Linked DNA regions of Homo sapiens: regions 1, 3, 4, 5, 6 and 7 are each linked to region 2. Evidence: promoter capture Hi-C in human tissues and cell types (Jung and others, 2019). All regions are on one chromosome and are shown on one strand. Each heading gives the region's core, a stretch centred on a gene start or on the middle of the fragment in contact. The rest is flanking DNA. Distances are from core to core; before and after follow the strand shown.

Region 1 (3,671 bases), core at 758-3,257, 1.2 Mb before region 2:
AACCATTTAGAAATCAGTTGCAGACATCATGATAATTCACCCCAAATACTTCAACATCTATTTCTTCAAGATGAGGACATTCTTCTTCATAACCTTAATGGTGTTGTTACACCCAAAATATAAACTATTGATGTAAGAAAAATACCTGATATCAGCCCATATTAAAATTTTTCCATTATGAAATTCACATTTCTTATAGTTGTTTCACTTTTCAACTGATGATTCAATCAAGGATTATTCAATACCCTTAGTTGTCTTGTCTTTAATATAGAATAGTCCCTCTCTTGTCTCATGAATTTGAAATTTTGAAAAGTCTAGGCCAGTGTTTTTTTTATTTTTTTCACAATGTCCCACTGATTATTTCTGGATTTTTAGAATCAGTTGAAATACTTTTTGTCAAGAATAATAAACAGATGATCTTGTGTCCTTCTCAGTGTATCACATTAATAATATTGACTTATACCATTATTGGTCATGCTTTATTGTTTATTTGATTAAACTGATATCTCTGAGATTCTTTCATTGTAAAAGGTAAACTTTTTTCTCAGTTGATAGATAACTGTGGTTAACGCTTTAAGACTGTATACAAATCTTGCTCTCAAAAAATTGATTTAATATTTTTTAACATTCATGATAATCTTAGCATTAGTGCTTGCAAAATAAAAATTTTTTAATTTATATCTTTTGTTTTATATTTACTAATAGACTTTCTTCAAGGAAGAACTTTCTCTTCCCCATCTCTTTTATTTTTTAAAATATCATTATGGAGTTAGGAATTTTTAAAATATTTGATGTGTTATCATCCATTGCCATCATTATTTTTTTGATTGCTCAAATTATCCCAAATATGTGAAGTAGAAGCCCCTTCAAGTTGACCTCGTGTCGTTTGATATAGCCTTATCAATCTTTGAGCATTTTCTTTGCTTTCTGTCTCAGCAATATGTTACAAACCTACCTTGCACTTTCCATGCCTAAGAGCTGGAATCAACCATTTCTCCAAAGAGCTCTGGTTCCTTATAGTGGGGAATTGTATTTAGAAACCAAGATTCAGGTTCATCATGTGCTTATTCAGTCAGTCAATGCAGTATATGTATCTCTTATACTGAAAGCTGCATTGCAGAGTTCTTTCACACTATCTCTTATACTGAAAGCTGCATTGCAGAGTTCTTCCACACTTCCTATGTTGGAATCTTACTTTTTCCACAGTGAAGATCCTGACTGTCAACACCAATATATTTATTCATTTAGTGTATTTTACAGCACCCACAAAATATTTTCAGAATTACTACACCGATACCACTACCAACAGCAAACTTGCTAAGTAAACTTAAAGTTTTTTAAAGTTCTTTTTGTCTTTAAAATGTATTCTACTAGGGGTTAATAATCACAGTACTGTGTTCAAAAATTTCTGAAATTGTGTGTGTGTGTGTGTGTGTGTGTGTACGGACACGTATGTTATAAATTTGCTATAGCTAAATTTGTTTCTGTTTCTGTTCAATTTTAGTGATTTTTTTTGGATTCTTGATTTAATTTCTAAATTTACATAAAGAAGTGATATGCTTACATATCAAATGCTATATATATATATATTATATATGGATGAATCAGAAAAGTTTGATTCTTTTTCCTTTCTCTTATACTTTTTTCCCACTTTTCATCTTTAGGTAACAATTTTCATTAGTTTCTGGTTTTTTTCTGAGTGTGTCTATTTTCACAAATATATACACAAATGTATTAAGCAATACATACACAAATAAACATGCTTAATGTGTGTCTTCATTCTCCTCATTCTTACACAGTAGGTTATAATATATATTTTTACATTTAACAATATATCCTGGGAATCACTCCTTAGCAGTTTACTGGCAACTTCTTTAGTGTTTTGTATAGCTACAAAGTACCCATTTTTGGATATTCGGTAATGTATAAAAATCTATTGCTTGCTACTGCAGGGAATTTAAGTTGTTTTCAATATTTTGCTATTATAATTAATGTTTCAATGAATACACTTAAACACTTATACATACGTTTTGTAGTTGTAGAGATATATCCTCAGATTAAATTTTTAGAAGTGGAACTGCTGGATCAAAGGATAGGTTTTGTTTTGCTAACTTTTGCTAAATTCCCCTCCACAGGATGGTATAATGTGATGTTCTGACCAACAACGTATGAGGATGTGTTTCTTCACAACCTCACTAGCAGGGTGTATGGTGAAGCTTTGGATTTCTGTCAACTTGATAAGGAAGAAATGGTCAGTCAGTGGAGTTTTAATTTACGTTTTTATAAATTAAGTGACTGGAAGCATCTTACATGTATTTTAAGACTGTTTGTATATGTTTTTTTTTCTGTGGAACATATGTTCATGTCTCTCTCATTTTTCAGATTTCTTTATATTTTTGGAATATTAACCTTTTATCTGCAATATATGTTGCAAATATTTTCTCACATTTTGTCATTTTTGTTTTGATTTTGCTCATAGTGTTTTTTTCCTGCAAAAGGTTATTTTAAAATATTTTATGTAGTTTAATTTATCTTTTATTGTATCTGGATTTTGTGGTAGAAAGGCTTTCCCCATATCAAGGTTAAAAAGGAATTAATCTATGTCCTGTTCTAGTATATATATGATTTCATTTTTTATATTTAGATATCTGATCTATTTTTAGTTTATTTTTGTATATTTGAGGTACAGATCTGATATCACATTTCCCCAAAAGGAGTGATTGGAAATGGTGTATATATATGTGTATGTATATATATACACACACACACACACGTACACATGTGTGTATATATATATACACATATGTACATACATATGTACACACGTGTGTATATATACACACACATATACACACATATACACATATATACACATATATACATATATGCACATATATATACATACACACACACACACACACACACACACATATATATATAATATATATAAAATTTACATACGTACTGGGCTTTCTCATTGATTCTGTTTATACTCCTGTAACACCGCGCCTTGATTATATCTTAGTATTTGTTTGGCTAGGCACTCTACTGCTGCTTTTGAGGATTATTCTAGTTTTTCTACCGTAATTATTTTCCTTAAAATTTTAAAATCAACTTATCTAGCTTCAAACATATTGTTCTTTGTATTTTTATGGAGTCATGTTGTTTCTAGATTAACATGGTGAGAATTGCCATCTTCGTGGTGTTGACTCAGACCATCTAAGAACAGATAGTTTTCCCTTTAAGTTCACTTTTCATTCGGAGTATTTTAAAGTTTTCTTTAAAAACCTTTTTAACATCACTTGTTAGGTTTACTTCTAAGTACTTCATTTTTTTTGGTGGCCATGAAAAATAGCATTTCTCTTACATTGTATCTTCTAATTAATAATTTGTATATATGGAGTACATTAATTTGTGTATAGTATTTCTCTTTCTACTGTTTTAAATTTTATTTTTGGTTTCAGTTTAGTCATTAAATCCTCGAGTTTTTTATGTATACTATCTTGTCATCTTCAAATAGGATGCTTTATACTTCTTTTATGTTCTTATGTCTCTATTTCCTCATATCTAATTTCATTGATTAATATCTCAAATGCAGGATTATAATTGGAGACAGTGAACATTTTGCCTTTTTCCTGCCCATAAAGGGAGTGTCTTTAGTGTTTCCTATT
Region 2 (4,070 bases), core at 626-3,125:
CCTCGCCTCGCCGCGCGGGTGCGCGCGTGGTGGGGGTGCAGGTCCGTCCTGCTGGCGGCCTGTGGGCTCGCCCCTCCCCTATCCATTTCTCTCCCCCACACACGCTCATAAACACAGGACACGTGGAAATTCTCAGCCAAAGCGTCTTGCCCGGGCGGGTGCTCAACGTGGTGATTTATAAACAGCTCAGCCACTCTCCAAAGAGCATGACTCCTTGTTAGTCATGATGAATTTTCTGGCCCGCTCCAGTCTGCTGTCTGGATTCAGATGCTCAGAGGCCCCAAAATGCTCCCTCTGAGCGTTGATTTGGCTGCCCTCTCAAGCCTACGACCGCCGGCAAAACCAGCGATAGAGCGAGGGGTGAGAGGTGGGGACGCGATCCAGGTTCCCTGGGGTCTGTCATTCCCTTCCCGGCAGTAACTGTTGATTCGCTTTACAGCGCCCATGTACACACCCGGCCCTGCGTGGCGGTCACGCCGCTCCAGCCTGGGTCCGCGCCCAAGTTCTAGCTACCGGGCTTGCAGGCTCGGAAACTCGCAGGCGGCACCTGCTCTGGGCGGCTAAAGAACTGATGGCGCGACGCGCCCGCGCTCCGTAGAGCGGCGCTGCGGGTGCATGGTCCCATAGTCTTGCTCTGGAGTTCACTGCTGAAAGCTGAGCTGGGAGCTTGGCCAGGGAGCGCCAAAGACATAGACTAACCCCACCCGCTAGCGCCCACCGAAGTTACTGATTAGGAAGGTTCCCCTGGCATCAGCCCATTTGCTTCACACACTCTTCCTCCTTCCCAAGGGGCTAACGGAAAAGTTGCACCTACCAGCGGTAGGAGCACGGGGAATCGCGCACGCAGGCCCTCCGCGCGGCTTCCCGGAGCGGCCTTTGGCGACTGCGCCGCCCCTACAAGGCCGCACACCCCTCGCCAGCACTCCGGCAGCCTCGCACAAGACGGAGCCCACGCAGGCTTCTAGTTTTCTAAACCAAAAACTGCACGCGCCGGCGTGTGAATCTGACGGAGAGACTTTTAGAGTTTTGTTTGGTTTTCAGTTCAGACCGCTACGCTGTCAGAGCAAGCAACTCCGAGCCTTGATGGGAATGACTTACAAGCCGCGGTGCGGGCTGAGCCTGCCTCTCTCGGGGTTCTTTCCCCAAGGGAGTGGGAGACAATTGGGCCTGGAACCTAAAAGGAAGAGAGCCTGTGCTAGCCGCGGGGTAGAGGGGAAGGAGAAGAGCTTTGGGCCGAAGTGTCCGCACACCCTGGAGCAAGAGACACTTGTGCACTGAAATTCTAACCGTGGGATGCAAGGAGAGTTGAACAGGGGAACAGGTCTGGCTCTTGGCTCTAGGTTTAAGAGATACACACTGTGTGTGTGTCCCTAGGTGAATAAAAATCCGACTCCCGCTGGCTCGGTGCGACCCAGCTTTTCCCTTACCCCCTCCGTTTCCCCATCTTAAAGCCCTATTGGGAAACGAAAGTGGACACCACTGCCTCCCGCCCCCCACCCCAATCCAAGTCTTCCAAGTGTCTGTGGCCGATAAGAGCACCGGGACCGCCCCCCTGCCGGTCTTCTCTGCCTGGGAGACAGATGGGGGGCGGGGCCCATCCGAGAGAGGGCGGAGGAGGCCCCGGGTGAGGAAGAAGCGGGGGGGTGAGAACTGAGAGAATCTGAATCGGGAGGCGAAGGGGACGGGGAGGAGGGCTAGGAGGACTCCGAGCCCGGGGGAGGGGGAGGGAGTAGCTCTGCGCCAATCAGTGGCGCCGGCCTGGGAGGTTGCTAGCGGTATCCACGTAAATCAAAGGGCGCGGAGCCAATGGGAGGGGGCGGAGGGGGCGGGGCCCAGGCGCGTGCCGCTGCGAGCCGGCGCTGCCAAGAGAGCGGGAGAGAGCTGGAGAGAGCAGGGAGAGGGGGGAGCGCCGAGCTAGTCAGAGAGTGAGCGAGAGCGAGAAGGAGGGAGAGGAGGAGAAAGAGAGCGAGGGCGGGCGGGAGGCGGCGGCGGCGGCAGCAGCAGCAGTAATAGCAGGAGCAGCAACAGAAGGCGTCGGAGCGGGCGTCGGAGCTGCCCGCTGTGGGAGAGAGAGGAGACAGAAAGAGCGAGCGAGGAGAGGGAGCCCGAGGCGAAAAAGTAACTGTCAAATGCGCGGCTCCTTTAACCGGAGCGCTCAGTCCGGCTCCGAGAGTCATGGCGACCGCAGCGTCTAACCACTACAGCCTGCTCACCTCCAGCGCCTCCATCGTGCACGCCGAGCCGCCCGGCGGCATGCAGCAGGGCGCGGGGGGCTACCGCGAAGCGCAGAGCCTGGTGCAGGGCGACTACGGCGCTCTGCAGAGCAACGGACACCCGCTCAGCCACGCTCACCAGTGGATCACCGCGCTGTCCCACGGCGGCGGCGGCGGGGGCGGTGGCGGCGGCGGGGGGGGCGGGGGCGGCGGCGGGGGCGGCGGCGACGGCTCCCCGTGGTCCACCAGCCCCCTGGGCCAGCCGGACATCAAGCCCTCGGTGGTGGTGCAGCAGGGCGGCCGCGGAGACGAGCTGCACGGGCCAGGCGCCCTGCAGCAGCAGCATCAGCAGCAGCAACAGCAACAGCAGCAGCAACAGCAGCAACAGCAGCAGCAGCAGCAGCAACAGCGGCCGCCGCATCTGGTGCACCACGCCGCTAACCACCACCCGGGACCCGGGGCATGGCGGAGCGCGGCGGCTGCAGCGCACCTCCCACCCTCCATGGGAGCGTCCAACGGCGGCTTGCTCTACTCGCAGCCCAGCTTCACGGTGAACGGCATGCTGGGCGCCGGCGGGCAGCCGGCCGGTCTGCACCACCACGGCCTGCGGGACGCGCACGACGAGCCACACCATGCCGACCACCACCCGCACCCGCACTCGCACCCACACCAGCAGCCGCCGCCCCCGCCGCCCCCGCAGGGTCCGCCTGGCCACCCAGGCGCGCACCACGACCCGCACTCGGACGAGGACACGCCGACCTCGGACGACCTGGAGCAGTTCGCCAAGCAGTTCAAGCAGCGGCGGATCAAACTGGGATTTACCCAAGCGGACGTGGGGCTGGCTCTGGGCACCCTGTATGGCAACGTGTTCTCGCAGACCACCATCTGCAGGTTTGAGGCCCTGCAGCTGAGCTTCAAGAACATGTGCAAGCTGAAGCCTTTGTTGAACAAGTGGTTGGAGGAGGCGGACTCGTCCTCGGGCAGCCCCACGAGCATAGACAAGATCGCAGCGCAAGGGCGCAAGCGGAAAAAGCGGACCTCCATCGAGGTGAGCGTCAAGGGGGCTCTGGAGAGCCATTTCCTCAAATGCCCCAAGCCCTCGGCCCAGGAGATCACCTCCCTCGCGGACAGCTTACAGCTGGAGAAGGAGGTGGTGAGAGTTTGGTTTTGTAACAGGAGACAGAAAGAGAAAAGGATGACCCCTCCCGGAGGGACTCTGCCGGGCGCCGAGGATGTGTACGGGGGGAGTAGGGACACTCCACCACACCACGGGGTGCAGACGCCCGTCCAGTGAACTCGAGCTGGGGGAGGGGCAGAGCGCGGGGCTCCCCCTCCCCTTCGGTCCTTGGCCCTTTCCCGGCCCTCTTGTTCCCTCTCTAACTTCTGATTGTTCTTTTATTTTTAATTATTATTTCCCCGTCCCTTAAAAAGACAAAAAAAATAAGGCAAAAGGAAAGCAACTAAGACACTGGACTATCCTTTAAAGGTAGCAGGTGTAATGATGTGTTTTGACCTTTGCAGGCGAGTAACCAGGCAATGGAGTGGAGTGTCTCCTGGAGAGAGTGAGGAGAGTGTGTGATAGCTAGAAAGAGAGAGAGACAGAGAGATGGCAAGCACTGAGATAAATACCTGGCAAAACTAAATAAATTACCAAAAAGGAAAAAAAATCCACCAAACCATGATAAACACAAAATGCAGCTTCCTGATGCTTAGAGTTGGCACATGCTGCTGTGTTTATTTATTGTGGATTCCCATCAGGAAAGAGGAAAAAATACACATGTTCTTTCATATAGGCAAAATTTAACCACATAAATTTGCACTGCAAGAAAATTGAAGTTTACGTGAACAAATTCATGA
Region 3 (3,791 bases), core at 1,283-3,782, 1.0 Mb before region 2:
TACTGTACTTCATTCTCCTATACTGATTTTGCTACACTGATAAGCAGGACCCAGAGCTGAACCTGGCAGGGCAGTGATCCCAGAAGTCTTGAAGAGTGAGGGGCCAAGCCAGAACATGCCTACCGGCCTCAGTGAGTAGAACCCAGCTGGTGCAGATGGAGAGAAAAGAGCTCTGGAAGGAGAACTTCAATCAAAAAGCCAGCTTAGTTCTTAAGTTAAAAGTAATCCTGGGTTTTGTGGGTCCTGAAGCTTATAAAATATGGGAGGGGTAGTCTTGTTTGGGAGAAACAAACAAACAAACATAAAAATTGTAACATTTTCAACATAACTATAAAGAAAGACTTTGTGGGCAAATTGCTAGGTCCCACTCAGGGCCATGGAAGGGGTCTGTGCAAAGGAGGGCCCCTGAAGCTTAAGCTTTTCCTAAAGTTGCCTTTGAATGAAGGCCAGTCTCTAGAGATTAGGCATAGGATGCATCTAGCTGTAATAGCCAAAGGACCTGAGACCAGAAGTCAGAAGAAGAAGGTTCAAGCAGAGACTGGAAGGGGCAGATTGTGGAAAGATAAGATGCTAAGTTAGAGAAGACCATAACAATGTCTATAGTTTACCCCTAGTCTTCTGTGGTGGGGGAGGTCGCTATTTAGGATGTCATTCTGTGTGAGACAACAAGCATGATCATGACCCTGAAAATAAATGTTTCAACCAAGTACACATGGACATAAAAATAGGAAGAGGAGATGCTTGGGACTACTAGAGGGGTTAGGCAGGGCAGGGGATGTGGCTGAAAAACTACCTTGAAATTATGAAAAATAAAAATAAAAAATAACAAACAAACAAAAAACTTAGCATTAACCAACAATGGAAAATCATGGTTTGAATGAGTACTTTATGACTGACCTTTTTCACTCAAAGCATATCTGAACTCTGAGGTTTGGATAAAACAAAGAAATAAAGTTTTCATTATTTCCCCATAGGAGCTTCAAATATGTAGCAACACTGAGTGGAAAAAAAAATGTACTAGTAGTTTTCTAACAGCTTGTACCTTACCTAATATTAACCCGCTGGGCATATGGGAACTGTAAGGAATCTGGACGCAATAGTAAGCTTTGGTTGAAAAAAATGCACCGATCAATAGCTTGCATTACTGTAAAAATCCTTCTGGGCTTAAAATTTTATTTTCTTGTATTATGATAGAAACCCTGAAGAGCAAGAATGAGGGCTAATCAAAGAAATAGTAGAAAACAGCATATATGTCCCAATACATGATGGTCTTTATCAAGAGCATTATGGTTTCCACACGGAAAGCTATATAGTAGTGGAATTTTTTTTTTTTTGTCTTAAGTCTCCATGGTGCTATTTCAGGGTGCTTTTTACAAAGATTTTCTAGCAACCAAGTAAGCTCAACAACATATCTTAAAATAGAAAAATAATTATTCCCATAGTTGTGTATATATGTACACACACATACCTATGTGTATGGTACTATTTGTTTCTCTTTTAATGTTCTACTTGAACACTTAGGAATTAATCATTTGATTTTTTCCTGGAATATAACTTTTACTTGTATTCTTTATGTCATTGGCTGGTGTTGTATATGTATCTACGAAAATTATTTTTATCATAAAATGGATATATCACTGGATAAACATAAAATATAAGGAAACTAATTACATAGAGCCACACTGTAGCTGTTTGGTTTTAGAATAGTTTGGTATGTGAAATATGTAAACATATGATTAATATTATGCATTTGCAGCCTGTTTCATTGAAGAATGCAATTTATTTGCTTCTTTTTATTTCTCTTCTCCAGGAGAAGGAAGTTGATAGGAGTTGACTGGAGTCTTAGAGAATAGTAGAATTAAGGAAGTTAAATCAGGGTATAGGGAAGAGAATGGTACATGAGGCTTAACTCATGAAGGGGAGGGAAAAAGTAGCTGTAGAATGCAAGTCCAGAATTAGATGTGCACAAGGAACTCACAGATTCAAGGGTCTCTGCATGTGAGGAGGCAGATCTCATTAGGAGAAACTCCTCCCCCCTGAGAGATCATACCTCTCATTTTTCTTCCTTAGTCAACCTGTGGCAATGATTGCAGTTAAAGCAATAATTCAAAAATGCAGACCTAAAACCTAACCCATCTATTTCCCTTTTAAACCCCTTTGTTGACTCCTTTTGATCTATGGTACATTTTGAACCTCTTAGAATGGCCTTACCTGGCACTTGTATCCAGTCTCCAGACTCAGGTCCCACTAATATGTCTCATGCCTTATATTCTGGCATAAAAATCTGGTTGTTGTTTCCTGACCATCCTGCATACCTGTCTTGGGGATCTTCTCTCTGACTAGATGCTTTCTTCACCTTTTCCTGGCCAAATTAAACTCATAAGATTCAGCTAGAACATCACCTATTCCAGGGAATCCTTTCCTGAAAACCTCCAGGCCTAACAGCATATGTAAATCACTATATTCCCAGAACACTTGAAAGGATGTCAAAATTAGATTACATTGTATATTTATTATTATTCTCTTGAAGACAGAGACCATATTAAACTTCCCTATAAGATTCTGACCAGTTCTATTGTTTGTGTACTAATAGTTTTAACTGGGAAGGGTGGCAAATAAATTGTGGAGTGCGTTGAACTTCATACAGGCAAAAATTTAGGAACATACAAGTATCTCAATTGAAAGGATTATTTTTATATAAGATAATTTTATTTATATTCAGAAAGATGCTTGTGTTTACTTGTTTGGGGACTTTCTATACCAGGCAAGCCCTTTTACATGTGTGAAGTGAGACTGCAGGTGAAGCCATCTGGCAGATCACATATTCGGTGTTCCTAGTAGCATGGATAAAAGACCTTTAAATAAAATTTCAAATCTATCTAAATTAGGACTGGATGCATGATTCTGAATGTAATTGATTTGGCAATATATGCCACCAAACCTCAAGAAGGAGACACATACTTGTTTGGGCGTAAAAATTGATGACATTGAGCTGGAAAACTATTTAACACACAAAGCTAAACAAGATTTCTCAAGCTCTAGGAAGTGATTCAACGTAAACATAGACTGGTTTGGGGAAAAGAGGGTAAAACAGCATCTGTGTTTTGTAGTCCGTAACAACTATACCCAAGCGTCAGTTCGTGCTTCTGAGAACTTTTTCACTGTTTTCCCTACATCAAATAAGTTTGAACCCGATTTATATGAGATTCTGCACCCAAATCTAAATAATTAGAAATAAACTTTATCACTTTAGAGATTGATGGTAAAACAGGGGAAATACCTAATTTCTCGAAGAAAATAAGAGACTGATAAGAACCAAACAACCTATTTCTTAATAACATGATCTGGAAATGAAATGATTGTTTGTAATGATTCAAATGAAATGTAACAGCAGACTGGATGAAAATTTCATTTTATTAGATAGTAGCATTGTAATTATTTTTTAATTACCACATCTGAGTTAGAACAAAAAGCTTGATAGTGTTTGGAATCATAATTTAAGGTCAAATAGATGCATTTAAAAACATTCTAGTTTAAATTTGTCAGCATAAGATCCATGAGGGGAAAACAAAAACAAAAACAAAAAAACCTAAGAATTTGGGGAAATGGTGCAATGCTTTAGCTGGATTATGGTGTAGAATGCGGTCTGTTTGGTGACAGTCAATATACTGCTATTAAGTATGAACTAACCTGGTGGCCCACAACATGTGCATGGTGTCTGCTTTTAAGAATTCTTTTTTTTTTTTTTTTTTTTTTTTTTTTGAGACGGAGTCTCGCTTTGTTGCCCAGGC
Region 4 (3,757 bases), core at 323-2,822, 1.4 Mb before region 2:
TGCTGAAATCAACATCTCTTTCCTAAAACAATTCATTCAGTCTCTAATTCAATTGATGGTACCAAAAACCAGTCAAGAAAGCCATAAAGCTCTGTCACTCTTCCCATTCCCTCACCCCTGCTCCAATCAGTTACTTATCCAGCTGATTTTTGCATGACAAATATTTCTTAAACTATTCCTTATTGCTATCTCCACTGTCTCTGCCCTAGTTTAGGTCTTTCTTTCTCTGATTTTGAATATTGGCTGGAAGAATCTCCTAATAGATCCCTGAGACCCTAGCCATCTCTTCTTTGAATCACATGCCACATCAGGGGTATAGATGTAAAACAAAAATATAATTATATCAATTCTCTGCTACCTTCGTACAGATCTACTTAACCTACAGAATAAGCTCTTTAACATGGCACCCAGGGTTTTCCATTATCTGCCCTTGTCTATACCTCTAGCCTTCCATCTCCACAATCCTTGTCTTATGTTTGATGTTCTAGCACAGTAAATTGTTCATAAATACCTAAACACACGTATCTTTCTGCCTCCAGTGCCCTTCTGTAGGCACTCCTCTCCCCGGCCTACGTTTTCACCAGCCTGCATTTAAACTCTGAATATTTAAGACTCTTCTAAGAGATCGTGGATCCTTTACCTTTAAAAAGTAGGAATTGTAGAATCCAAGTCTGTTAGAAAACTTAAAAATGATACAAAAAGAAGATAATCTCTTTTTTTTTTTTTGAGACGGAGTCTCGCTCTGTCGCCCAGGCTGGAGTGCAGTGGCGCGATCTCGAAGATAATCTCTTAATAGCTACCAATTATTGATCCCATACCATATGCCAGACTCTATACGTGGTGCTGTCGTGCTTTCCCATCTAATGCTCACAGTAAACCTGAAAATAGGCATTATTAATTCCATGTAACAATCAAGCAACTGAGGTGCAGAGAGTTGTGTGTCTCATCCATGTTCATGCAGCTAGGAAGTGATAGAGCCATTATATAAACCTCAATTCATTTGTTGATAAAGTCTGCTTATAACTGCCTCTATATAAAAATATTATAATACTGTCTGTGGTTTCCAAAAATAAGATACCAGAGAAGATTCCAGGGAAGGAAGTGGAAAAACATTTTTTATGATTTAAGTATACAATATTTAGGGCATATATAGGCATATATATAGGATATACACAGCAATGGCCTTCCTTTTCTTTTCTCCTCTGGATACTTACTCACTTAACAAAGATTTAAGGGCTCTCCTACTACTTCCAGGTCCTGTGCTAAAAGATGCTTTAGAAAAGTTCCCTTCTTTTAAGAACATGTGATTCTTTTTGGATTCTTTTGGCTTTCTCATTACCAAAGCCTACACTTCTCTAGAAATAACAGAGGGAGCTTAGAGAGGAGGGCCTAGAAAATGTTCAGTGCCAGACTTATTAATTTGAATATTACACTCATAATAATGATGATGATAGTAAAAATGTGTGTCAAGCTTTATGTTTCACATATTGGACATGGCTTTTGCATATATTATTTTATTTAATCCCAACAAACCTTTGAGGTAGGTACTATCGTAATCTCCATTTTCAGATGAGGAAACTGAAGCACAGAGAAGTCAAATTATTTGTCAAAAGTCAGACAGATAAAAACTCCACAGAGTTGGAATGTAGACCCAAAAACCCATGATATATGTTATAAGTACTCTAATAGCATATATAAAGAGTGTCTTTGGAATGCAGTGGATGGAATTTTGCTTAAGTGTGTAGTTGAGAGGGAAGACTTCACAGAGGTGGTGTCTTCGACCTGGATTCCAAAGCAGAAAGCTTGAATTTTCCAAGCCAAGGAAATGGAGAATGGTGTTTCTCATAGTAAGAGAAAAATAAATATAAAAGCCTGGAGGTTTAACAGTGGTGATTTATTTTCAAGAAATGGCAAGTAATTCAGTGTAGCTAGAAATGGAAAATTAGAGTAGATACACAGTTTGTGGTCATATCATAAATGGCAAGAACTGTCAGCAGGGAGTGGGAAGCCATGAAGCAATTTTAAGAAAAAGGGAGAGAGATGATAATAGTAACAGTTAACATATAGCTCTTGCTATATGTCAGACACTATTTTAAGTGCTTTACATATTTTAACTCAGTTAATACTCATAAGAATCCCATGATGTACATAGACTGTTAATTATTATCTCCAGTTTATAGCTGAGGAAACAAGCAGTGAGGTTAATAAGTTGTTCAAGAATCATAGCTAATAAGTTGCAGAGGTGAGAGTAGAACTCAGATTGTCTAGTTTCAGAGTTTTTTGTTCTCACCAGCATACCATACCACATTTTTTATGAGTTTTGAAGAAAATCTCTCTGGAGGCAGCATAGGGAATTAATTAAATAGGTGGCTAGACTGGAAACAAGGAGAACCACTTGCAGTGGTCCACGTAGGAGATACTTGGGGTCTGAATCAGGTTAGTGGATATATCCTCCAAAATCAGAGTGGAAAATTGAAAGGAACTGTAACTGGCTTGTTACAGTTATTGATAAAGATGCCCAAGATGACAGGCTTATGCTGGTTGAAAACTCAAATGATTACAGAGGGAGCAGTTAGGTAATTTAGAGTCGGGAACATGTGCAAGTCACTAGATAGTGGTGGAGACTGTGGGGATTATAGAGCACATACTTGGTCTAAAGAGTGCACTTGCTCGGAGGCTCCAGTGGGTTTCTGCCATCGAAATATGAGCCATGTACTGTCTGATATTGTACTCTAATTTCTTTTCTTTTCTTTTCCTTTTTTTGAGACGGAGTTTTGCCCTTGTCACTCAGCTGGAGTGCAGTGGTGCAATCTCAGCTTACTGCAACCTCCGCCTCCCAGGTTCAAGCAATTGTACTCTAATTTCTTAAAAGGAGTTTTAAATTTGAATCTTTATGGAGAATCTGCTGATTTTTAAATGATAATAAATAATTTAGAAACAGAAAAACAATCCTGTATGACTCAGTCAAAACAAATCTTCCAGTTGAATTAAACCTGCAGCTGTCATTTACAATCTTTGCAATAATTCTGGATTTTGCAACTGAGAGAATATTAATGTCTATAGAGGATGTAGGAATAAAAGCAGGCTGGAGGATAGGCAAAAATGCGTTAGGAGTTTTGGATGTATTTTTGTGGATGTCTTGTTGGGTGGACCAGAAAAATGATTGGAAGCAAATAGTGTCATGAAGTAGAAGGCAGAAAAATGATCTTAAGAGCATAGATCAGTATGATAAGATGGAGAGAATTCCTATCAAAGTGTGATAGTCATAATTAACATCATCATTGCTGTCATATTGAAGGCTTAATCTGTGCAAAGCATATTCTTAATTTTACATTTAAGTTTACTGTCAAGCTAACATTTAGCATTTTTAGGATTAAATGTTGATCTCATTTAATCCTAAAAACAACCCTCTTAGGCAGACATTATCATTATTATTATTATCACTGTACCTATTTTATAGATGAGGGCAAGTCTTAAAACAAGTAAGTGGAAGAACTGTGACTCAAACCCAGATTTTCCTGTTACTAAAGTTTTTATTCATCTGGAAATATAAGTGGGAGTGTAGAGAAGACGGCCTAGAAATGTGCAGCACCAGCTTTCTACATACCAACATTTAAAAATTAAAACTTTTAATTTGAGATAATTGTAGATTTATGTACAGCTGTAAGAAATAATACAGAGAGTTTATATGTACATCTGACCCAGTTTTCCTCAATGGTAACATATTGCAAAACCAAAGTTGTGTATCACAACCAGG
Region 5 (3,661 bases), core at 580-3,079, 1.2 Mb before region 2:
TATTCTGCAGTTGTTGGGTAAAATGTTCTATAAATATCTGTTAAGTCCATTTGTTATATGGTATAATTTAAATTCGTTGTTTCTTTGTTCACTTTCTGTCTTGACCTGTCTCGTACTGTCACTATTGAAGTCCTCCATTATTATCATGTTGCTCTCTGTCTCATTTCTTGGGTCTAGTAGTATTTGTTTTATAATTTTGGGAGTTCCAGTGTTAGGTGCATATATATTTAGGATTGTGATATTTTCCTGTTGGACAAGTTATTTTATCATTATAAAATGCCTCTCTTTGTCTTTTTAAATTGCTGTTGCTCTAAAGTTTGTTTTGTCTGATATGAAAATAGTGACTCCTGCTCGCTTTTGTGTCCATTTTTATGGATATCTTTTTCTACCCCTTTAACTTTACATGTGCCCTTACTTGTTAGGCGAGTCTCTTGAAGACAGCAGATACTTGGTTGGTGAATTCTTACTCATTCTGCCATTCTGTATCTTTTAAGTGGAGCATTTAGGCAATTTACATTCAATGTTCCTATTGAGATGTGAGGTACTATTCTATTCATCATGCTCTTTGTTGCTTGAATACCTTTTTTTCATTGTGTTTTTGTTTTATAAGTCCTGTGAGATGTATGCTTTAAAGAAATTCTATTTTGGTGTATTTTGAAGATTTGATTTAAGATTTAGAGCTCCTTTTAGCAGTTCTTGTGTTGCTGGCTTAATAGTGGCAAATTCTCTCAGCATTTGTTTGTCTGAAAAAGACTGTATTTTTCCTTCATTTATGAAGTTTAGTTTCACTATATAAAAAATTCTTCACTGATGACTGTTACTTTTACATACATGGCACTAATTATTTCGAGGTATGTTTCTTCAATGCCTAGTTTCTTGAAAATTTTTTTTTTATCATAAAGGACTCTTGGATAAAGAAAGTGTGATAGATATACACAATAGAGTATTGCTCAGACAGAAAATAATGAGATCCTGTCATTTGCAACAATATGGCTGGAACTGGAGGTCATTATGTTATGTGATTTTAAAGATAAAATCAACAAACTCTTAGCTAGACTAAGAAAAAAAGAGAGAAGACTCAAATAAAACTGAAAAGGAAACATAACAGTGGGTGCTTCAGAAATTTAAAAGGCCCATAAGGGATTATTATGAATAATTATATGCCAAAAAATTAGATAACCTAAAGGAATTAATAAATTTCTAGATACATACACTGCACCAAAACTGAATCAAAAAGAGAGAGACATCAACAAAATACTAGCAAACCAAATTCAATAGCACAACAGAAACTTAATTCACCATGATTAGGTAGGCTACATTCCCAAGATACAGGGTTGGTTCAACATATGTAAATCAATAAATGTGATTCACCATGTAAACAGGATTAAAAACAAAATCCATATGTTCTTTTCCATTGGTCTGTATAGCTACTATGTTGAATAGGAGCAGTGAGAGAGGGCATCCTTTTCTTGTGCTGGTTTTCAAAGGGAATGCTTCCAACTTTTGCCCATTCAGTATGATATTGGCTGTTGGTTTGTCATAAATAGGTCTTACTATTTTGAGATATGTTCCATCAATGTGTAGTTTATTGAGAGTTTTTTTTACCATGAAGGGGTTGTTGGATTTTATCGAAGGCCTTTTCTGCATCTATTGAGATAATCATGTGGTTTTTGTCACTGGTTCCGTTTATGTGATGGATTACGTTTATTAATTGTGCACATTGAACCAGCCTTGCATCCTAGAGATGAAGCTGAGTTGATCGTGGTGGATAAGCTTTTTGATGTGCTGCTGGTTTCAGTTTGCCAGTATTTTATTGAGGATTTTCGCATTGATGTTCATCAAGGATATTGGCCTGAAATTTTCTTTTTTTGTTGTGTCTCTGCCAGGTTTTGGTATCAGGATGATGCTGGCATCATAAAATGAGTATTTTTCTTCAGACTTCAGACTGCTGTGCTGGAAGCAAGAATTTCAAGCATTGGATCTTAGCTTGCTGGGCTCCATAGGGGTGGGATCCACTGAGCTAGACCACTTGGCTCCCTGGCTTCAGCCCCCTTCCAGGTGAGTGAATGTTTCTGTCTTGCTGGTGTTCCAGGTGCCACTGGGGTGTGAAAGAAAAATTCCTGCAGCTAGCTCACTGTCTGCCCAAACAGCCGCCCCGTTTTGTGCTTGAAACCCAGGGCCCTGTTGGCATAGGTACCTGAGGGAATCTCCTGGTCTGCGAGTTGCGAAGACTGTGGGAAAATTGTAGTATCCAGGCTGGGCAGGGTCCCTCACAGCTTCCCTTGGTGAGGGAAGGGAGTTCCCTGACCCCTCGCACTTCTAAAGTGAGGCAATGCCCCACCTTGCTTTGGCTTGCCGTCCGTTGGCTGCACCCACTGTCTAACCAGTTCCAGTGAGATGAGCTGGTTACCTCAGTTGGAAATGCAGAAATCACCTGCCTTCTGCATTGATCTCACTGGGAACTGCAGACCAGAGCCGTTCCTATTTGACCATCTTGCCAACCAGGGGAAATCAACTATTTCAAATTTTTTTTGAGGACCCTCCAAACTCTTCTCCATAGTGGTTGTACTGATTTACATTTCCACTAACATTGTACCAGGGTTCCCTTTACTCCACATCTTCACCAGCATTTGTTATTGCCTGGATTTTTGCATATAAGCCATTTTAACTGGGGTGAGATGATATTTCATTGTAGTTTTGATTTGTATTTCTCTGATGATCAATGATTTTGAGCACCTTTTCATATATCTGTTTGCCATTGTATGTCTTCTTGTGAGAAATGTCTATTCAGATTTTTTGCCCATTTAAAATATTGGATTGTTAGATATTTTCCTATAGAATTGTTTGAGTTCCTTGTATATTCTGGTTATTAATCATGTGTCAGATGGGAAGTTTGCAAATATTTTCTTTTATTCTGTGGGTTGTCTCTTCACTTTGTTGATTGTTTCCCTTGCTGTGCAGAAGGTTTTTAACTTGATGTGATGCCATTTGTCCATTTTTGCTTTGGTTGCCTGTGCTTGTGGAGTATTACCCAAGAAGTCTTTGCCCAAACCAAGGTCCTGGAGGGTTTTCCCAATGTTCTCTTTTAGTGGTTTCATAGTTTGAGGTCTAAAATTTAAGTCTTTCATCCATTGTGATTTTAAGCAAGAAATAGGGGTCTTGTTTCACTCTTCTTCAAATCCAGTTTTCTCTGCAATATTTATTGAAGAGACAGTTTCTCTTCCCAATGTGTGTTCTTGGCACCTTTGTCAAAAATGAGTTTACTGTAAATGTTTGGGTTTTATCTGTCGGTTCTCTATTCTGTTCCACTGATCTATGTGTCTGTATTTATGTTGGTTCCTTGCTGTTTTGGTTACTACAGCTCCACAGTATAATTTAAAGTAAGGTAAAGTGATTCCCTCAGTTTTGTTCTTTTTGCTCAGAATAGCTTTGGCTATTTCAGGTCTTTTGTGGTTCCATATAAAGTTTAGGACTGTTTTTTCTATTTCTGTGAAGAATGTCTTTGGTGTTGTGATAGAGATTACATTAAATCTATAGATTGCTTTGGGTAGTGTGGCCATTTTAACACTATTGATTCTTCTAATCTTTAAAGATGGAATATCTTTCCATTTGTTGGTGTCTTCTTCAATTTCTTGCATTAGTGTTTTATAGTTTTTATTCC
Region 6 (3,715 bases), core at 59-2,558, 1.1 Mb before region 2:
TTACCCTGTGGATAGGATTGTGATGTTGTAATAAGGTCCTTTGCTCTTTTAGATACTAACGATTTATTGATGTTTTCAAAAGAACCTTTTTTTAACTGTCTTCTTGGATGAAACAAATATTATAATCAATTTTTTTAAGAGCTTGACTTTCTGATTTTGTTACCTTAAAAGTTCTTTCTCTGTGTTTGGATAGAATTTCAGTTGCTGCTGGCTGGCAGCCATTCTTGAATGAGAGAAGAGAGTTGTGCTGGCAGGCGAATGAATTTGTCCTACATGTCCTCTCCAGCAGAATGTCATGTGGGGTCAACTTCTAGTCCCAAGTTTGATATCATCTGATGAATTCCTCTGTACAGATATTCTGATTCTTCCATGTTATAGTATGGAGCTGCTTCATAGATCTTTGGTTATGTGGACATTTGTATATCTACCATTTTTCTATGCCCAAACAGATTCTGGATGAATCTGTTTTTAAAAAACTATCTGGGATCACCAATTAAATGATTTTCCTGATGCTAGGGTCAGTGATTGTTCGAGCTCAGTAGAAGCTGTGGTGTCTTGCCTAGGTCCCCCTTCCTGGGTTGTTGCACTTATTCCTCAGCTGCTGGCAATGCTGTTTGCAAATGTATCAGAGCTCCCATCCACCCACCTCCTAACTCCTCATCTCTCCACCCACTGCGCCCTAAAAATTGCCCTTAGCTATTAGGAGCAAACTAGCCAAGGAGGCTGTGACACTTCTTTCCTCCTTCAGGAATGGTATGTAAACAATGCCTGGAATATACAGGGCTATAGAAGTCTAGCTTTCTTGCCTCAAAAGGGAACAACACTCCAGTGGGATTTATATTTCAGACTCCCTACAATACAAATGGATCAGCCCAAGACTACACTTTACCCGAGACCACATTCTTGATCACCTCTTTCTTCTTCCCTATCCTGCTTTATGCTCACTCTTAGAGGCACTCCTGAAAACATCTTCCTCAATAAAGCTCTAAAAACCCTGGATCAGGCTTTGTTTCTAGGGAAACTGGCTTAAAATTCTATCAAAAGTGGTCTTAGAAAGCAGACCTCAAGAATGGCATCCTGAAGTTAGAAACTTGAGAGCTGGCTTATACCAATGACTTATCACTGGTGGTAGCTTCTGACATGCAGCCACAGTGCAATTGCTAAGGTTATCACTGAGGTCAACTTGGATGGGATATGGGCAGAAGAAGATGCACTGGTTTGTGCAAAATCTCTGGTGTTGGAGAGGTACAAGAGAAATATAAATTTGAAGGTCTGTGGAATTCAGAGGCTATTTCTGAATGCCATTGATGTTTCAAAGAGATGAAATAACAGGCTCAGGGCAATCAATCACCAATTTAAAGCCAAGTATGAAAGTCAGAGGGCCTCTTTGGCAGCTTGTAAACAGACCTTCAGTTCCTACAGCTGGAGGGCAGATGAACTGAAGAACAGGCATAGGACTTAATTATAAAAGTCACAGAACTAAAGAGAAAGCATAATTCCCAGCCATGGAAAGTCTTATATGCCAAACTCAGAGTCCTGAAAAGTAAAGAAAAGGGCACTGAAACTTGGGATAGGGTTATCTGGGTATATATAGAGTAAATCTTCACTTAATGTTATTGATATTTTTTTGGAAATGGTGATTTTGAATAAAATGACACATAATGAAACAAAATTTACCATAGACTAATTTATATAAACAAGAGTTAAGTTCCTATGGAATATTTCTGGTCAAAAAAAAATCACCAAACTTCTAAATAAAGACCCCAAACACTCCTAATATTAAACACTGACTTAAGTGTGAGCAGTACACACACTTAAGAAAGATTAATAAAAACACATAAGATAATTCTTTACCCATTTTTTTTTGGTGAATCAGTGAGTGATGGTGATCATGGTGCAGGTGGGTTAAATGAAGGAATAAATGTTTGCAAAGCAAAAATTGTAAGAGCACCTCTTGCCAGCACACAGTTCAAATGCAAATAAATATTGTGGGCTCAATGGGCACTTTCTCCCTGCATCATTTATTGTTGTGCATTTGTGTGATTATCATAGACTTGAAGAATTTTTATTTGATAGTAATTTGTGTTCCATTCATTCATTTATTTTCCAACCCACTTGTTCCAGTTCAGGGTCAAGTGTGTTAGGAGCCTATGATGGCAGTTGAGGGCAGAAGTAAGAACCAGCCCTGGACAGGGCTCCATCCCATCATTGCAGGGCATACTCACACATACACCCATGCACACTCAGACTGCGACAACGTGGACATTCCACTTCACCTCATGTGTACATCTTTGGGTTGTTGGAGGAAATTGGAGTATCTAGAGGAAATCCATGCAGACATGGAGACAGTGTACAAACTACACAAACAGTGGCTCTGGCCAGAATGCCAGAATGGATTGCTTTTCTTATCAATGTTACAATACAATGACATCGAATGAAACAATGTTATTTGAGGATCTGCTGTACATGTAATCCTTGGACTCCCAGATTCCCCTGGAACTTTTGGGTTTGTACAGTGGTCCCCCTTGTTGAAAGATAATGCCTCTGCCACCTCTTGGTTGAAGACTGTGAGAAAACTCACATGAGGCAGGCAGATGCTTTACAGGATGTTACTAAGTACTTCTGGATCTGCCTCCTACTCCCTTCTTGGTCACATAAACAGCAACTAGGATCACTATCTTAGCCTAACACAGTTGAAAAAATGTGGAGCTTCCTAAAGGAGGGGATGGATTATATGCTCAGAGTTGCAAGAATAGCTAACAAGTACAGCAGTAACTAAGAAAGCATTCTTGAGAGTGGATTCTAAAGGTGTTGGATAAGGATTGTGGGGTAGAATATAAAGTTAAATAAGGGAGAGTATGCTAATATAGGGGGACCCTCCTGTGATACAAAATTTAACAACCAACAGTAGTTCTAAGACACTCCTTGGGAGTATCTTGGAAGCTTGAAAAGCAATGGCTTACATTTAATATAGTAGAGATGCTAGATTACTGTGACAGACTGGTGGAAATGACCAAAGGCTCAGCAAAGTGGGCATTCTAGAAAGGATTTATTGTATAAATCTTGAAGACCTGCTTGCTGATTAACTTTCTTAGAAGAATCTAGTGTATAATACATTTATGAAGGAGACATCATCATTATTTAGAAGCTCATATTGGCTATACTTTGTAGGCTGGAACTAGATAGAAGAAAACACTATACAGAATTGGATACCATTGTAAGGTACTCTCCAGCTCTCATATATTTCAGGGATTGCCTCGGCTACAGAGAGCTGCCTGTCTCATGGTCACTCCCTTTATGGATCGATGCAAGTACAAATGCCTGGTTACTTTGGTCGAATGCAAGATAATTCTGCAGGGCCTTTTTAGCTATCTACGGAGACATTTATCTGGAAATCCCCATGGAGTTGGACAAGACTGAATTAGAGCTTGAATTATTCTCCCCAATCCTTCTTCCTTCTTCTCCCTTCTACAAGTGTTGCTCTCAAGAGGACTCCTTAATAAACACTCTGTGTTCTAAATTCCATAACTGAGCCAACTCTTATGGGAACCTAACCTGTGACAGGCCTCAAGGAGATTTCCTGTGACCAGGTGACAGAGGGGGATAAAACTTGAGCTTGGTTCACAGATAAAGTGGCTTGCTACCACGGTATGATCCTAAGATAAATAGCTGATGCATTACACTTCCATTCAGGTGTAGCTTTGAAACAAAATGA
Region 7 (4,113 bases), core at 1,555-4,054, 1.2 Mb before region 2:
TGTCATACTCAGGGTTTCTAATAGCTCTCAATTTTCTACAAGTTTGCTTGTAGAATTTTTATTTGAATGTTTGCTTCAGTTTCCTTTTGGAGTATTGACATTAAGCTATACTAGGTCAAACTTCCCTGGATTATTTTCTTTTTTTAAGAAAAAGATAATTGTAATTACCAATATAGGCATTTGGTTAAGAATCTGGGGTTGGAAGATTCAAAACTTCTTATTTTAAGGAATTCCAAGCAAATTTCTAGTATTAACTCTGAGATTTGGAAATGTGAGTTTGCAATATTGTTTAGGCCAGAAGAATCACTCAAAGAGAAACAGAATTATCAATATTTTCTTCACAGATGAGGGGCAGTTAGGGTTGTCAGGTAACATACATGATACCTAGTTAAATTTGAAATCAGATAAACAATGAATCAATTTTTAGTATATCTTAAATATTGCATGGGATATAATTATATTAAAAATTCATCCAATGTTTATGTGAAATTCAACTTTGAGTATCCTGAGTCCTGGTTTTTGGTTTCCAAATCTTGCAAACCTAGATAAGACCAAAACATTAAGAAGTGAGTGACTATAACCTGGATAGCAATCTAGAGATTTGGTCATATGGGTTCTGTCCCAGAATTTCATATGACAGTGAGCCAAGTTTTTTTTTTTTCTGCACTGGTAATAAGTCTCCAACTAGTTTATTGAAATATTGTGTAGATAATTTTAACTTAAACAAATATAGCTTAAACACTCAGAATTTTTTGACAGCAAGTCACATATAAGTAAAAGGAGGTAGAGTGATACCCCAAAGACCAATTAAAGGTCTTTTGAGACTGGCAAATTCAACCTACTTGAATTGAGACACAGACCTGCCATCTACAAGAGAACTAATGAAATGACTTCCATCATCTATAATGAATTGTATAAGAAAGAAAATATTTTATTCTTGACAGAGAATTGAACTTCCTTACGAAATGCAAAAGTTGAAAGGAAGGTTTGAAGTTCAAATAGGTTATAGGGAGAAAGGGGACAGGGATTTGAATGAAAATTGTCTAATTCAAATTTTGTGTGCAAAACTCAAATTAGGTAAGAAACATGTGACTTTAGGCTTTACAACTGGCATTGTCAGAGGAGTTGTCAGAGCCCAGGTGCCCAGCTTTGCCTTAATTACTTTTTCCCCCCCAAAGTATTGTTTTAAAACATTTGATGATATAGATGTTTAACTGTTGGACTATTATACTGTATTTTTTTTAATGAAAAAGAGTAAGTGGGATTCAGTGTCAAATTATTTTCTCAGAATTTTCCACTAGCAAATATAGGCTTATTTAAACCAGGGCTGTCCAATCTTTTGGCTTCCCTGGGCCACATTAGAAGAAGAAGAATTGTCGTGGGCCACACATAAAATATACTAATATTAACAATAGCTGATGAGCTAAAAAAAATCACAAAAAAACTCATAAGATTTTAAGAAAGTTTACAAATTTGTGTCGGACTGTATTCAAAGCTATGCTGGGCCGCATGTGGCCTGCAGGCCACAGGTTGGACCAGCTTGATTTAAACCTTTGCCAAATACTCTCATGATTATTGCACTCAGGTGTAAGCTATTAATATAGTATCCAATTGAGAGTGTGCTAGTAGCTGAAATGGCAAAGATGTATTTTATTTGTAAGGCATAAACATAAACAAGGAATTGATTAATTGGGCATACTTTCATAGATGTCATTAGATAATTCCTTTTTATTTCAATACATGAAATTTACATAGAACGAAAACCAAAATTTGTTATTTTTTATATGATAGGCAACCTAATTTGTAGCCCTCTTTTTCACTGCCACCCAAGAAATAGAAATATTGGAATAATATTCTTAGCCCCCAAGTTTTATTTTGCATTTTTATTGTTGCATGTGGTAAACACAGAAGAATACATTAAAACAGTTGACACATTTTTGCCCTATTGTTAGCATAAGTGTAAAATGAGATGTTTTCAAAAATCAATCATCATGTATTTATTGATTTCCTATTGTAAAGTATTATAATACAAGTAATATAGGCTGTTAGGCTATATGCTATTTTTAAAGTATTTACCTACACTTCTCTCTCTCTCTCTCTCTCTCTCTCTCTCTCTGTCTCTATTTGACCTATCTAAGATAGAAAGAGAGAGAGGGAGAGAGAGAGAGAGAAGTGTAGGTAAATATTTTAAAGATACCTTATCTAAGATAGATAGAAGTGCAGGTAAATATTTATAAATATATATATATATGTAGAAGGGTCAACTCAATTTACCAATAAGTACAAAGAAAATATTAGTAAGTACAAATGCACTAAAATAAACTGAATTCATGAAGAAAATTATATCCATCAGATTAAAAATCCCTTATTATTCTGACAGTTCTACCTACATACTTATCTGCATTCTCATTCTTATTTCCTCCTTTCTTCCTTTACAACTGAATAAATGTCTCCTCTCCTTTCTGGGCCAAGCTCTTGACTTGGGCCCTGAATTCCTTCTTTTTCTGCCTTCTCAGGGCTTTTGCAATAGGGGTTGTCCTTTCTGTTTCCTTTACCTTCAACCTTTCTCCACCAACTCCTTCCCGTGAGTTCTCAGATACACTCACATTCCTGCTATCTTAAAATCAACAGTTTCTTCATGAACTCCCCTCTCCAGCTATTGCTTAGTTTCTTTCTCCTAAAAGCCACAATTTTGGAAAAAGGTGTCTACATTTTCCCTTTGTACTTAGTCTTTTATTTCTGTGCTCAGGACCCAAATGAGAATCTCGTTTCACTGAGGTCACACAGCACTTCCGTGGGGCTAATTCCAATGAATATTTTTAACCTTCATATTAGTTGCCTGTGAATGGATTTTGATCTACATTACCACATTTTTTTGCCTTTTATTTTATTTTATTTTATTATTATTATACTTTAAGTTTTAGGGTACATGTGCACAATGTGCAGGTTTGTTACATCGGTATGCATGTGCTGGCTTTGAAAACATACAACCTCCTGGTATTTTTTCTCCCTCTCTCAGTCTTCTTTTCCTTTGCCCAGGCTTTAAATGTTGATGTTCTTCAGGATTCTGGCTTGGGGACTCTTCTCACTCCACACTCTTGGGGATTCTCATCCACTCTTCAGCACTGAGGTACAACTTCAGACCGAGGACTTATGTTAGTTTCTCTATTTCAGACCTCTCTGCTGAGTTCCATTTCTAGAAATACAATGTATTTCTGGACATCTTCACTTGATTGTCTTTCAGACATCTCAAACACACACTGTGTGAAACTTATCTTCTTTCCTAAATTGCTTGAACAGCCTTTTAAACTGACTCCCAGACCACAGCCTTGCCACCCTCCAATCTGCTCTCCACACATCAGCCACAGTAATCAAACTCAAGTCTTTTCATATTGCTTCTTTGATCTGCCTGCATATAATCCATCACTGACTTGCTATTCCCAAAGTCTAAATTCGTTAAGGTTTCCCAGGCCTTCTGAGATCTGTTCCCCATTCTTTGTAAGCTTCATCTTTTCCCTTCTCTCTCACACATTCTAGGGTAAAAATATACTGAACAATTTATTTTTCTGTTCCTCAGGTACACTCCCCTATTTTTTATCCACTTGCTTGTCATACATGGAATTATCTCTGCCAAGAACACCCTTCCTTCCTTTTTGTCTTGATCTACCTTTAGATCCCATTTCAGTTGTGCTATTCCTTTCCTCTGAAAGTTTTCCTGGTATCCCCATCCGCCCAGACTAGATTAGACATTTTAAGTGTGTGCTCCTGTGTCTACTTATATTTTCTCATTGTAACACTTGGAGACATTTTACTATAACTTTCTCATTGTCTGCATTTTAAGGTACTGCAACTCAGGCAGCACAATTTCTGAAGTCTCGGGTGCTAAACTAAAATTTTCCCAGAGACCAAAAATAATGTGAAATCCAATATAATTAAGACTGCGTAACAGTTCTCTGAATTGGCCACATTATGCAATTCATGTATTTATTCATAAAAATATTTATTTAGGATACTATAGAAGTGGTTAAGAGGGCAGACTCTGAGGCTAAGCTAGATTGCTTGGGTTCAAATCTCAGCCCTACATGCATGATTTACGATCAAGTTGATTAAGTT

What was found. Contacts are between HindIII fragments. The study calls those that stand out against the background at their distance.
Region 1: a contact is called between a fragment that was not itself captured here and the fragment with the promoter of POU3F2 in region 2, in 1 of the 25 tissues and cell types used here (H1 embryonic stem cells).
Region 3: a fragment that was not itself captured here is called in contact with the fragment with the promoter of POU3F2 in region 2 in 1 of the 25 tissues and cell types used here (dorsolateral prefrontal cortex).
Region 4: a fragment that was not itself captured here is called in contact with the fragment with the promoter of POU3F2 in region 2 in 1 of the 25 tissues and cell types used here (dorsolateral prefrontal cortex).
Region 5: a contact is called between a fragment that was not itself captured here and the fragment with the promoter of POU3F2 in region 2, in 1 of the 25 tissues and cell types used here (dorsolateral prefrontal cortex).
Region 6: a fragment that was not itself captured here is called in contact with the fragment with the promoter of POU3F2 in region 2 in 3 of the 25 tissues and cell types used here (H1 embryonic stem cells, dorsolateral prefrontal cortex and heart left ventricle).
Region 7: a contact is called between a fragment that was not itself captured here and the fragment with the promoter of POU3F2 in region 2, in 2 of the 25 tissues and cell types used here (dorsolateral prefrontal cortex and lymphoblastoid cells).

The regions. Positions count from the first base shown.
Region 1 is chr6:97,631,353-97,635,023 of GRCh38, forward strand. All of the region lies in intron 3 of LOC101927314 (a long non-coding RNA gene), which reads left to right. Among named protein-coding and RNA genes, the nearest start is that of MMS22L, 350 kb to the left of the region's middle. The HindIII fragment of the contact is 6,336 bases long and covers 1-3,671 here.
Region 2 is chr6:98,832,699-98,836,768 of GRCh38, forward strand. POU3F2 (POU class 3 homeobox 2) reads left to right here and starts at 1,876. Exons shown (of 1, transcript NM_005604.4): 1 at 1,876-4,070. The coding sequence starts at 2,176. The coding sequence ends at 3,507. RefSeq lists a silencer at 1,817-1,886 and enhancers at 2,525-2,594, 2,593-3,189, 3,190-3,785. The HindIII fragment of the contact is 21,173 bases long and covers 1-4,070 here.
Region 3 is chr6:97,823,535-97,827,325 of GRCh38, forward strand. No RefSeq gene overlaps it. Among named protein-coding and RNA genes, the nearest start is that of MIR2113, 200 kb to the right of the region's middle. The HindIII fragment of the contact is 4,404 bases long and covers 331-3,791 here.
Region 4 is chr6:97,425,649-97,429,405 of GRCh38, forward strand. All of the region lies in intron 1 of LOC101927314 (a long non-coding RNA gene), which reads left to right. Among named protein-coding and RNA genes, the nearest start is that of MMS22L, 140 kb to the left of the region's middle. The HindIII fragment of the contact is 4,910 bases long and covers 1-3,757 here.
Region 5 is chr6:97,610,282-97,613,942 of GRCh38, forward strand. LOC101927314 (a long non-coding RNA gene) reads left to right here. Exons shown (of 5, transcript NR_110757.1): 2 at 1,887-2,058. Among named protein-coding and RNA genes, the nearest start is that of MMS22L, 330 kb to the left of the region's middle. The HindIII fragment of the contact is 4,357 bases long and covers 1-3,661 here.
Region 6 is chr6:97,719,191-97,722,905 of GRCh38, forward strand. No RefSeq gene overlaps it. Among named protein-coding and RNA genes, the nearest start is that of MIR2113, 300 kb to the right of the region's middle. The HindIII fragment of the contact is 5,166 bases long and covers 1-3,715 here.
Region 7 is chr6:97,658,537-97,662,649 of GRCh38, forward strand. The region is part of intron 3 of LOC101927314 (a long non-coding RNA gene); the gene reads left to right. Among named protein-coding and RNA genes, the nearest start is that of MIR2113, 360 kb to the right of the region's middle. The HindIII fragment of the contact is 6,000 bases long and covers 1-4,113 here.